Regions from separate parts of the Homo sapiens genome. Here all the other regions are linked to region 4. The links are contacts of gene promoters, found by promoter capture Hi-C in blood cells and fetal thymus (Javierre and others, 2016). All regions are on one chromosome and are shown on one strand. Each heading gives the region's core, a stretch centred on a gene start or on the middle of the fragment in contact. The rest is flanking DNA. Distances are from core to core; before and after follow the strand shown. Region 1 overlaps TSGA13 (testis specific 13). Region 2 overlaps COPG2 (coat protein complex I subunit gamma 2). Region 3 overlaps COPG2 (coat protein complex I subunit gamma 2). Region 4 holds the start of KLHDC10 (kelch domain containing 10).

Evidence for each region. The method cuts DNA at HindIII sites, captures the fragments that hold promoters and counts their contacts. A CHiCAGO score of 5 or more calls a contact.
Region 1: a contact is called between a fragment that was not itself captured here and the fragment with the promoter of KLHDC10 in region 4, in 12 of 17 cell types (megakaryocytes, naive B cells, total B cells and 9 more). The highest score is 10.1, in megakaryocytes.
Region 2: a fragment that was not itself captured here is called in contact with the fragment with the promoter of KLHDC10 in region 4 in 1 of 17 cell types (megakaryocytes); the score reaches 6.4 in megakaryocytes.
Region 3: a fragment that was not itself captured here is called in contact with the fragment with the promoter of KLHDC10 in region 4 in 2 of 17 cell types (megakaryocytes and endothelial precursors); the score reaches 6.9 in megakaryocytes.

Annotation. Positions count from the first base shown.
Region 1 is chr7:130,675,219-130,678,101 of GRCh38, reverse strand. All of the region lies in intron 5 of TSGA13 (testis specific 13), which reads left to right. Among named protein-coding and RNA genes, the nearest start is that of COPG2, 7.9 kb to the right of the region's middle. RefSeq lists an enhancer at 1,232-1,788. The HindIII fragment of the contact is 4,053 bases long and covers 1-2,883 here.
Region 2 is chr7:130,652,413-130,655,428 of GRCh38, reverse strand. It overlaps COPG2 (coat protein complex I subunit gamma 2), which reads left to right. Exons shown (of 24, transcript NM_012133.6): 5 at 2,481-2,560. Among named protein-coding and RNA genes, the nearest start is that of COPG2, 15 kb to the left of the region's middle. The HindIII fragment of the contact is 5,306 bases long and covers 1-3,016 here.
Region 3 is chr7:130,611,810-130,614,548 of GRCh38, reverse strand. It overlaps COPG2 (coat protein complex I subunit gamma 2), which reads left to right. Exons shown (of 24, transcript NM_012133.6): 7 at 913-1,005; 8 at 2,311-2,397. Among named protein-coding and RNA genes, the nearest start is that of COPG2, 56 kb to the left of the region's middle. The HindIII fragment of the contact is 1,276 bases long and covers 727-2,002 here.
Region 4 is chr7:130,068,864-130,071,895 of GRCh38, reverse strand. KLHDC10 (kelch domain containing 10) reads right to left here and starts at 1,362. Exons shown (of 10, transcript NM_014997.4): 1 at 1,087-1,362. The coding sequence starts at 1,252. RefSeq lists a silencer at 1,158-1,327 and enhancers at 1,428-1,617, 1,648-1,847. The HindIII fragment of the contact is 10,740 bases long and covers 206-3,032 here.

The DNA.
Region 1 (2,883 bases), core at 219-2,718, 610 kb before region 4:
CGGCCTACACAGTAGCCAAATCTTTGAAACTCCTTTATAGACTAAAGAAATTCAAATTCCATTCAACAAGCAATTGCTGAGGATACAGTAAGCTAAAAACCAGAATATAAAGATGATTACAGGACAGTTTCTGTCTTAAAGGAACTTGGAATCTAATAGGAGAAAGATCAATAAATGAGGTATGTTAAAGTAATAGAAGAATATACAAAATACAGAAGTAATGTAGAATACAGTATTTCTGTTGGGAAAAAGGGAGTGAGTAGGGAAGTGACCCATGACAAAAGAACAGGAAAATATCAAATCAGAGGAAAGAGCAAAAGCATGAAGACATGGGAAAATGAGGTGCATTCAGGAAGATGTAAGAGAGTAAATGGCAGGGCCAGGCGCAGTGGCTCACGCCTGTAATCCCAGCACTTTGGGAGGCTGAGGCGGGCAGATCACTTGAGATAAGGAGTTTGACACCAGCTTGGCCAACATGGTGAAACCCCATCTCTCCTAAAAATACAAAAATTAGCCATGCGTGGTGCTGCATGCCTGTAGTCCCAGCTACTCAGGAGGCTGAGGGAGGAGAATCGCTTGAACCTGGGAGGTGGAGGTTGCAGTGAGCCAAGATAGCGCTACTGCATTCCAGCATGGGCGACAGGGCGAGACTCTATCTCAAAAAAAAAAAGAAAAAGCAAATAGAGTAAATGGCAGGAGACAAAAGGATGTAATCAAATTTGCATTTTAGGAAGACTGTTTTGGAGGTTGAAGAAAGGTGCATTAGTAGTTGTGGAAGAGACAAAACCCAGAAAGATGAGTTATAATGTTACTAAAATAGTCAAGGTGAGAGATACTGAAGACCTGAACTAAATCATTAGCAGAGGAAGTAGAGAAAATTTAATTATGAGATATTTAAGAATCAAAATCTGGCCGGGAGCAGTGGCTCACGCCTGTAATCCCAGCACTTTGGGAGGCCAAGGCAGGTGGATCACGAGGTCAGGAGATTGAGACCATCCTGGCTAACCCAGTGAAACCCCGTCTCTACTAAAAATACAAAAAATTAGCCGGGCGTGGTAGCGGGCGCCTGTACTCCCAGCTACTCCGGAGGCTGAGGCAGGAAAATGGAGTGAACGTGGGAGGCGGAGCTCGCAGTGAGCCGAGATCGCACCACTGCACTCCAGCCTGGGCGACAGAGGGAGACTCAGTCTCAAAAAAAAAAAAAAGAATCAAAATCTAAAAAAGGTCATGATAGCCTCAAGAGCGGGTCTAATCTAACAAGAACAAATTAAATAAATGAGTTAAGTGAAAGTGCAAACAAAGGATTCTAGTAGAAATTTTATGCTGGGCATGGGATTACCCAAGTGAGACCCTTATAATAAAATGTGGTGAATTTGGAGTTAGTGTTTCCATAGTTCCTAGATGGATGACAGTGAGAGATTCTCCTTCAAGTGGAAGATAAAATGCTAATATCCAATGGCATGTACTAACAAAGGAGTTAATGAATTTACCGCATGTGGTCTCTTGGGTCTCAGAATTTGTGCCCTTTGAAGGTAAGCTCACTGGTAGTTTCTCATGGCAGTGGGTGGACCATACATTGAGAAAGGGATAAATGCCAGGCCAGGATTGCCCTGCTTAATGCGCAGAAGGAAATACAAAGCTATCATGTAAACTGGGTGTGGGAAGAGCTTTCTTCCAACAGCCTGCACACTTTGTGAACCCTCCAGTTCAGGTGCAGAATCTAATCATATTGATGAGCAAATTGTGGTACCAGTTAAATTGTACTAATGGATAAAGTTAAGGCTCAAAGACTGGCACCATGGTAATTTTATGGGGCTATCAGACTGGAACAAGCCCAAGAAGATTGAAACGTGTGATATCTACAATGCCTCTTTAATATTCATGCAGCATCCTTTCCTTCCCTTGCTGGACAAATGTGATAATCTTTTGTAAACCTAGAATCATTTACAAGAAAAGCATTCTTTGTTATGCCCAGGCATGCATCCAAAAAGACTGTGAGTTCTAGTAGGCAAGTTATGGAATGTACTAGATATATCTATTACAGTGATTGTCATACTAACAGCCCCTTCTAAGTGAAACTGACCCTACCACAGTCTCCTGAGTAAGGGAATATCCTGAGAAGTTCTATTTTGTACAACAGGACCGTGTCCCCACTCCTAGTTGAGACCAGAGGAGGATATCAGACCCAACAAAGCAAAATTCATAGGCTGGGTAGTGACCTGTGATGTGGATTGGTACCCTAAAACCAAAACAAACAAAAAACAAATCAAAACAAAAACCAACCAACCTACCAACATCCAGAATCCCTGAGCTAATCAGATTCTTGTTTCCAGGTCTCTGAATTGAGAAATGAAAAGATTGAAGCAGTAGGAATGAAAGCTAAAAGGACACATAAGAGTAAGGCTAGAAGACTCAAACCGGCCTGGCGCAGTGGCTCACGCCTGTAAGCCCAGCACTTTGGGAGGCCGAGGCAGGCAGATCACGAGGTCAGGAGATTGAGACCATCCTGGCTAACGTGGTGAAACCCTGTCTCTACTAAAAATACAAAAAATTAGCCAGGCGTGGTGGCACATGCCTGTAGTCCTAGCTACTCCGGAGGCTAACACAGGAGAATTGCTTGAACTTGGGAGGTGGAGGTTGCAGTGAGTGGAGACTGTGCCACTGCAGTCCAGCCCAGGCAACAGAGTGAGATTCCATCCCCTCCCCACCCCACCCCCCCCAAAAAAAGACTCAAACCATGAGGAAGAAAGGTAGTGAAGAGGCCATGAAGTCGAGTATGGGAAGGCTGAAGTTATAGGGAAGTAGGAAGTAGAAGTAAATAAGCAGAAGCTATAGGTAGAAAAAAACCCATATATATATACATATATATATATATACACACAT
Region 2 (3,016 bases), core at 505-3,004, 580 kb before region 4:
AGTTTGTATTCCCACCAGTGAGAGTGGAAAGACCTTCTATTGCATAAGACATCTGGTATAGTTCTCAAAAGGAAACCATTCATAAGTAATTATTACCTAAGTAATGGGAATATACTATAACCTTACACTAAAACTTTAAAAAGCCTGTAAGTAAGCCTCAAAGTGAAAAAAAAACAAACAAACTAGTCCTGGTTAACCTTCCCTCACGACAGAATAGAGTTCAATACTATTTAAGATCATACACCAAAATAAACTTCACAATGTGCAGCATCTAATAAATGATCAGATATGCAAATAAACAGGAAATATTATCTATAAACAGGAGAAAAATGGATCAGCAGACACAAACCCAGAAATGGTAAAGGTGATGGAATGAGCAGATGATGTCATTAAAACAACTATTAACATGATCTATATGCTTAAGTTGTAAAGAAAGGCATAACAAGAATAAAGCATAAAATAGGAGAGATACAAAGAGATCCAAATACACTTCCCAAAAATTAAAAAAAAAGAAAAGAAATATATAAAATGAAAACTACACTGCATGGGGTTAATAGCAAATTAGAGATGTAGGACAAACAAACAAACAAACAAAAAAACCCAGGGTCATTGAAGACAGCAGTAGAAGTCCAAAATAAAGCAGAGAGGAAAAAAAGACAGAGTAGAAATAAACAGAGCATCAGCAACCTGTGGGGTAATACTTTGGAAGTTTTTTTATTGTTTATATTCAAAATTGCAATGGGTTTTTGACTTATCAAAATCAAATACTCATCTTTGTGTTTTCCCTACTCATGGGAAATTCGAGAGTCTTAGGATACTCTGATTCCTTATACGTATATGAGTATATCAACATATGTGTATATATACATACACACGTGCACATTTACATTAATATATTCTATGCCATCATTTTCTTGTGAGTCTTGTTTGCTCATTGTGACTTACTCCTGTCTTTAGCACTTTTTAAAAACTCTTCATTCCTTGCTCTATTTCTGAGTTACTCTGGAATGATTTTCCTTGTGCTTGAAGAATATACCTTTTAGAACCTCATTTTGGTAGATGTTAGATACTATATTCCATGCCAGTAAGATCCTTCTGTGGCTGTGAATGTTTGGTTGTCTTCATTTCTAGCATCTGTGAATTTCTCTTTATTTTGTCCTTGGCTACACATTTAAAATTTTTGTTCTGATTTTATTCAGCATTTCTGTGTATTTGTTTATGCAGTATGTTTTAGTGGTTAAGAGCACATTTTTGGCCAACATTTTGTGTTGTTTGTCTTTTGAATTTTCACCATTTTGGTGGGTGTGAGGTAGTTTCTGAAACGTGGTTTTAATTTTTCATTGGATAAGTAATTTTCATTTCCCTGATGACTAATAATGTTGAGCCCCCATTTTTTGTGTTTTAATGAAATTTTTTTCGTATCTCTAGTTTTCTTCTGCTTCTCACAGAACTTTTTTTTTCTTTAAATTGGGGTGGGGTGTTCCTGAAATTTTGATTCTTATTTTTTGTTTTCTTCTCATAGTAGCTTTGATCTGCCCCATGTGTGTGCCTATACTGGCTTTCTGTGTGTGTTTTTTTTCTGTTTTTAATCACCACGAGGATCCTCACTCTCTTTTCTTTCCTTAATGGGTTCAGTAGTATCAAGGTTTTCTCCATAGCTTGGACTCTGGAGCTGCGTCTGATGTATTTGGGTTTCTCTACTTAAAAGAAATTTGAGGTTACTCAGTAAGGGATGAGGCTGGACAGACTAGAGGAACCTGGTGTCTGGCTGCTGCCCATTTATCCATAGTGTATGAATAAATCAGAGATCCAGTTGAGTCGGGGAGAGTAGGTGGAGCATTGTTAGCTTAGTACTTACTTGGATCCAGGTATTCATCTAGAAATCTCATTTAGGGTTCAGGAGGAAACATTGGTATACACTGAACTGAGGAAAGTGCAGAGTTTGCACATTTTCCAGGAATGAGCCTTTAATTAATACTGTACGCCGTCTCTACTAAAAATACAAAAATTAGCCAGGTGTGGTGGTGAGTGCCTGTAATTCCAGCTACCCAGGAGGCTGCGGCAGGAGAATTGCTTGAACCCCGGAGGCGGAGGTTGTGGTGAGCCACGATTGCGCCATTGCACTCCAGCCTAGGCAACAGAGCGTAACTCTGTCTCAAAAAAACAAAACAAGACAAAACAAAAAACCTTTGTCTTTGGACTCAAGCTATCATAGTCTAAGTTTGTATCTCTCAGTAGAAAGATCCATATAATTGAATTTTTAAGTTTTTACCTATTGTGTCAATGCATCAGTTGTGTTTAGGAAATATTAGTATTCTGAATAGTTTCTCACCCAGATATTAATTTTTTTTTTTGGTAGATGAGACTCTTTTAAAGAATATCTTTCTAAAATATATATCTACTTGGGGTCCTCACTTCAAATAATTTAAAAAACCATTTCCTAATCAATAATCTGTTACCTTTTATAAATGATTTTTCAGCAAACATTGAGGAGAATGTGCTACCTTACCATCAAAGAAATGGCTACCATCTCTGAGGATGTGATAATTGTCACAAGCAGGTATGTAAATGGTCAAAATCTAGGATGAGATACTTATATATTTGCTGTTTGCTTTCTGTTGATTTCATTTTTTGACCATAAGAAAGCCAATAGGAATTTAAAAGAATATAATATCTTAAAGCATTCTTTTCTAAAATGAAGTTTTCATCATGTGAAAGCCATCCTTATCTGATAAAGCAAAGGAAGAAGTTACAAAAGATAATACTGATAGATTTGAGTGCATCAAAATTTTCATAAAAATGGATAAAACTAAAAAGTAAAAGATAACGTGCACTGAAATAAAATATTTACAACAAATACATCAAAGGCTAGCATCTGTAATATATAAAGAACTTTTAAAAAGAAACAAGTGATAATTCATCAAATAACCAATATAAAGGATCTAAACGTCTTTAGATAGTCGTTCTCACTAGTAACCAAAAAACATAAATTAAAAATTCAAGAATGAGGTATAAT
Region 3 (2,739 bases), core at 115-2,614, 540 kb before region 4:
GGCTGTCTCTTTCTGGGAACTCTGAGTAGGAAGGGTAGGCCAGGCATTACCAAGCAAATTGAATAATAGCTATATACCCATGCTTGGGTATATTTTAGGTGTATGTTTGTAACCTTCTTAAGTTGTAAAGGTTGAGCAGGACCAAATTATACATCTGATAAATCTGGATTCTAGAAGGAGTAATAGAAATGCTTTAATATTTTTTGGTGCACTGTTGTTCTGTTGTGATTGTTTTTTATTTTTTGCATTACATTGGTAGCAGCGTGAGACTTGACCATGCTAGTGCTAGCAATAAAACTCTTTTTTTCATCTGAATATTGCTCTCAGTCTTTTTACTCATCTTTATCTGCCACCACCTTCCCAGTGCTTTTTCCCAGTTAAAGTTAAAAAGAACTGTATTTCCAGAGGATTTTATGTTGAGGGCTCACTATAGTAGTACACTACACATTTAATTCTTTATGTATCTCAGATAATCAGGGATTACGTTTGATTTCTAGGACTCTCTGGGATCTGTATATAATATGTGCCCTTCACATAGAGGAATCTTCATAACTTCAAAAGCAGGCTCCATCTCCATATAGGAATTTCTTTATGACTTTCCTGATGGGTTCAGCCTCTGCTTGTGTATTTCTTCCAAACTGAGATTCTCCATTTTGAGACAGTTTATTTCATTGTTGAACAGTTATTCTTCTTTATATATAATCTTAAATGTTCTTTCTTAAAGCTTCAACTTCGTTGTTTGGGTTCTGCCCTTTGGGATATTATTACTATATTATCATCCTTTTAGTGCATTCTGAATATTTGCACAGAAACAAATATAAGATTGGTTTTTGAAAATTATTTTGAAGCATAAGAGTAATTTTGCATAAGCATGTTTTTCCTTAACAATTTTTTCTTTTTGAATGTTATTAGGGAACAATGTTGCAAGCCATTGAAAGATACATGAAGCAGGCCATTGTGGATAAAGTTTCCAGTGTATCCAGTTCAGCACTGGTATCTTCCCTGGTAAGTGAACAAGCAGCTTCCTAGTTCTTAAGCATGGTACAGTTTTGAGTTGCGAAAACAAAGTATCACTATGATTGTCTCACAAATGAAACAGTTAAAAATATGTATACACCTCTATTACTTTATCCAAGTGTGTTTTATCTAGAGCAGGGGTCCCCACCCCAGGGCTTCAGACCAGTACTGGTCTGTGACCTGTCAGGAACTGGGCTGCACAGCAGGTGGTGAGTGGCAGGCAAGCGAGCATTGCTGCCTGAGCTCCGCCTCCTGCCAGACCAGCAGCAGTGTGAGATTCTCATAGGAGCTCGAACCCTATTGTGAGCTGCGCATGCAGGGATCTAGGTTGCCGGCCTCATATGAGAATCTAATGCCTAATGATCTGAGGTGGAACAGTTTCATCCAAAAACTATCCCTCTGCCCTCTGTCCATGGGAAAATTGTCTTCCATAAAACCAATCCCTGGTGCCAAAAAGGTTGGAGATTGCTGATCTATAGGATCATTGAGCAATTAAAAACATAAAATGTTCGTATGTTTGAAAGGTTTTGGAAATCTGAAAGTTATGTTGTACACATAATAAAAGAGGGGTAAGTGTGGGGTATGGGACAGGAAAGAAACCTAGGACCCTTTTCTTTCATTTAAAATCTTCTTTATGACCTGCCTTTATGACTTCTACTACTTGTCTCTTTGTCCTCTGCTTTTTCTGGTGCCCTTTGTCTACGTGTATCCTTCAATCCAAAGTTTCCTGTCCCACTTCTGAATTTCCTCCCAGGAAGTGGTCTTTTTTTTAGTAATACATTTTTCTTTCCGTTTTTCAGCAGAACACAATTTATACATTAAAACCTATCACATTGCATTTGATTAACGTCAGTTACCTATATGTGAATGTGTAAGACATCTAAATACAAGAGTTCCTGATTCTGGAATATAATTGGCTGAGTTTTATAGCAGAGAATATACTAGTACTCTCTTTCTTCCAGGGGAGTTTCCTGGAAGTAAAGCTTGTTATGATAACGTTATTTAAGCACCGTTCTGTTGACTGTCCATCCCTATCCTGTTCTTCCTCTTTCATTACTTCCTTTTACACACCTCTCCCAGCTTACATATACTCACCTTTGTAACAGGTATGGGAGAAAATACTTCTGGTTTATCAGTTGCTCCAGGAGTAAAGACACAAAATAGACTTATAAGAGCTACATAGTTTTCTTCCTCTTGGGAAATGTCTGTGATTTTCAAAGAAAACTAACTCATGTTTCTAAGCTTCTAGTGACCAAGCATTATTTATTCTCATTTTTTTTTTTCTGTATTTAGCACATGATGAAGATAAGCTATGATGTGGTTAAGCGCTGGATCAATGAAGCCCAAGAAGCTGCATCAAGTGATAATATTATGGTCCAGGTATTGTCATTGAATCACATTAGCTTGTCTCAGGATCAGCATTCTTTAAACCTGTATTGTAGGGGCAGTGTATCGATTCCCTAGATAAACATTAACTAAAGGCAAATTAAGCAGCTACTAGTACGTATTCTGAAGTAGGAATCTCACTAATTATGATTACTGCCATTTGAATACTGCCCTTCAGGTGTTTCATAGAAGCTAGATGACCCTTTGTAGGAATATTTGGGAAAGATTGTTATATTCAGTAGTAGATTGAGATGCTCGTGGCAGTCTTTTATTTGAAAAATAATTTGTGTAAAAAGATAATTCCAAGTTCTGAGGCCTTGATTATAGGCATTATAA
Region 4 (3,032 bases), core at 113-2,612:
CATCTTCAATTTAATCAAATAATAATTTTTGACTAGAAGTATAAGGTACAGTCTTAAGCACAATTCATAAAAACCAATTCATCATGTTCTCAAAACTCATCAGCTAAACAAATATATCACTAATATAATCAATATTATTCACAAAAAACACGATGAATAATTAACACATCATTCCTGATAGTTCTTTTCATAGTAAAAATAAGCTTGCCCAGTGGGATATTTGACGTTCTCTGCATTATTTAATTCCCTACCTTCCTTCTACTAGATTGAATATTCAATTACAAACATACCTCTTTAAAATTGTCTACACATACATATCCACTTGATTTTATTTTGTTTTCAAAAGCATCTGAACTCAAGGCTAGGGCACTGTAGACCAAAATGTCAAATAATTGTATTGGGTACATTTTTCCAATTCTCAGTTGTTTTTATATTGTAAACACAGCATAATTGTGTCACTAAGTATATTTTTGATCTTCACTTTCTCCCCTTAAAACCTAGACACCATTATCCTGTCTCTGAACATTCCAAAATATTAATAATCCAACTAGTTTTCCCTAATCCTCTAGGTTCTCTTTCCCATACACTCCCCAGCCAACACTCCCCCACCCCTTTCTTCCGTTTCAGAATGCCTCTTACACACACGCCCCGTGTAGTTTTTACAAAATCACTCCTTGGAATGCGTTTCCTTCTTCTCTCCTTAACTTGGCACCCTTTTTGAAATAATTTCCCACAGCTAGGCGCCAATGTCTTTCATTTACAAGATCAAACTGCGGAAGGGGAAGAGATTGGGAATCGAGTAACCGAAACATTTGGAAATGTCAATGAGACAGTGGCCTCTCCTTTGAAAAGAAAACACAACTCTCAGCACAGAGCTTTCAACAGAGCACAGATACTTTTCTTCGCTGTGCTCCTGTTCCCTCCCTGACCTCAAAGACACCTTCCCTTTTCTCTGATCCCCAGTCCCTCTGCTATGCGTGGGGCCTGCCTTTCCTCCTCCCAAGGAAAAGCAAGCCAGGGAGAAAAAGAAAAGGTAGCAGTCACCTTCCCGCCCGCAAGCGGTCAGGACCCTGTCCCACGACTCACCTGGCAGGTGCGGCCGCCCGGAGAGTTGCACGAAGCGGTTGAGCTGGCCAGTCCCCCGACCCCCGCTGCCCCCACTGCCCCCGCCGGCCCCGCTACCTCCGCCACCAGCGCCGGCGGCGCCTCCTCCCCTCCGGCGGTTCCTGTCCCAGCCCTGGGCGGCCGACATGACCCGCTAACGATTGCCGCAGCCCGGTCCCGTCAGCGCCTGACCCAGCGGAACCAGCGGAGCCTCCTTCCTGGGCTCCTCCAGAGACCCAGGAGACAGGGGAAGGGGGCAGCGCCCGGTCCCACCAGAGACCAATGACTTACCGCCTTGGTGAAAGGCAGCCAATGGTCAGTCGTTTTCTTGGTAGGTGGCGGGAGGCGGAGAGAAACGTGGTAACCATAGCTATGGCTAAAAAAAAAAAAGTAGGGGGAGAGAAAGGCAGAAGCAGCCACTCCTAGCTCTCATCGTCCGCTCTGGGCTGGCCGGCGTCACCCCGACTCCTGCGGGGCCAGGCGGGCCAATCGAAGACCGAGTGTCAGAGGCCGCGCCTGCGGAAAGACTCCCGGGGACGGCCAGTGCCTCAGTCTTGGTTAGGATTCAGGAACTTTTTCCCATAAACATTGCAATCAGACACTGGATATACGCATAATACACATATTTGGGGGCAAGACGGTATTCTGCCAGCTTTTCAGATTGAGATCCCATTCACTGATGGTTGACACACACAAAGGGCTTGCTTGGGGTCCGGGTAGGTGAGGGGACCCAGGGGCGGAGTCAAAGCTAAAATGTAAGAACCAGATATTCCTGGGTTTCATTTGTCTTTCAGTCGGCTTAGCTGCATTTGTCCCTGTATAAGCCACGTCCCAATCAAACAGTTTTAAACCTGGTTAACAAATATGGGAAAATGTTCACTCTCACCTGTAATCTTAGAAATACAAAATAAAACCCCAATGAGAAACCATTTCTGGTTTATTACATCAGTAAAGACTTTTCAAATAACACCTGGCAGTGTGTGGAATGCCAAGAAAAAGGTATTCTCATAGATGGCTGATGGCTCTGTAAATATTTTTGTTCGCTCAAACTCCTTTTGGCTAGTAGAAAATTTTAATCAGCTTGGAAGATATATAATCAAGAGGAAATGTAAAATTAAATAAAAGGCAGCAACGGGTATGGAAGATCAAGATCAAAGAAAATTTTTAATGTGCCGATCAGGAGTTTCTATTGTTCCAAAATTAAACAGAAATTTTGGCTTGAAACTTACTGGGCGCAATGCAGACTGGGAAAACATACTATACACTGATGTTTCTGAATGATAAGGAAAAAGCATATCAAATTCCTCAAGGGAAACAAAACTTTTCAAGGTCCTTAGATGTGACAGATTTTTTTTTCTTTTGCATTAGAAGAACCTTACATGGTTGCAGAGAAAAAAAAGAAACTCTGCTGGAGCTGAGGACAAATACCCTTTGTACCTGGTGTGCAAATTTCTGGTCGCCACTGGCACTGCCTCCTTGTTTTCCTACTTCCAGTCCCTGTAGGCAGAAATGTTTTAGTCACTAGCACCATAGCACGCTGCTTATGAAAATGTTTGAGACTTGAAAAAAAAAAAAGCCTATGGTTCTAAAATATAAAAACCAAAATTAATATATGTTAACTGTTTTTTTTTTTTTTTGAGACGGAGTCTTACTCTGTCGCCGAGACTGGAGTGCAGAGGCATGATCTCGGTTCACTGCAACCTCTGCCTCCCAGGTTCAAACAATTCTCCTGCCTCAGCCTCCCAAGTAGCTGGGATTACAGGCATGTGCCACCACGCTCTGCTAATTATATTTTTAGTAGAGATGGGTTTTCACCATGTTGGTCAGGCTGGTCTCCAACTCCCCATCTCAGGTAATCCACCTGCCTTGGCCTCCCAAAGTGATGGGATTACAGGTGTGAGCTGCTGCGTCTGGCCAGTTTTTTATGT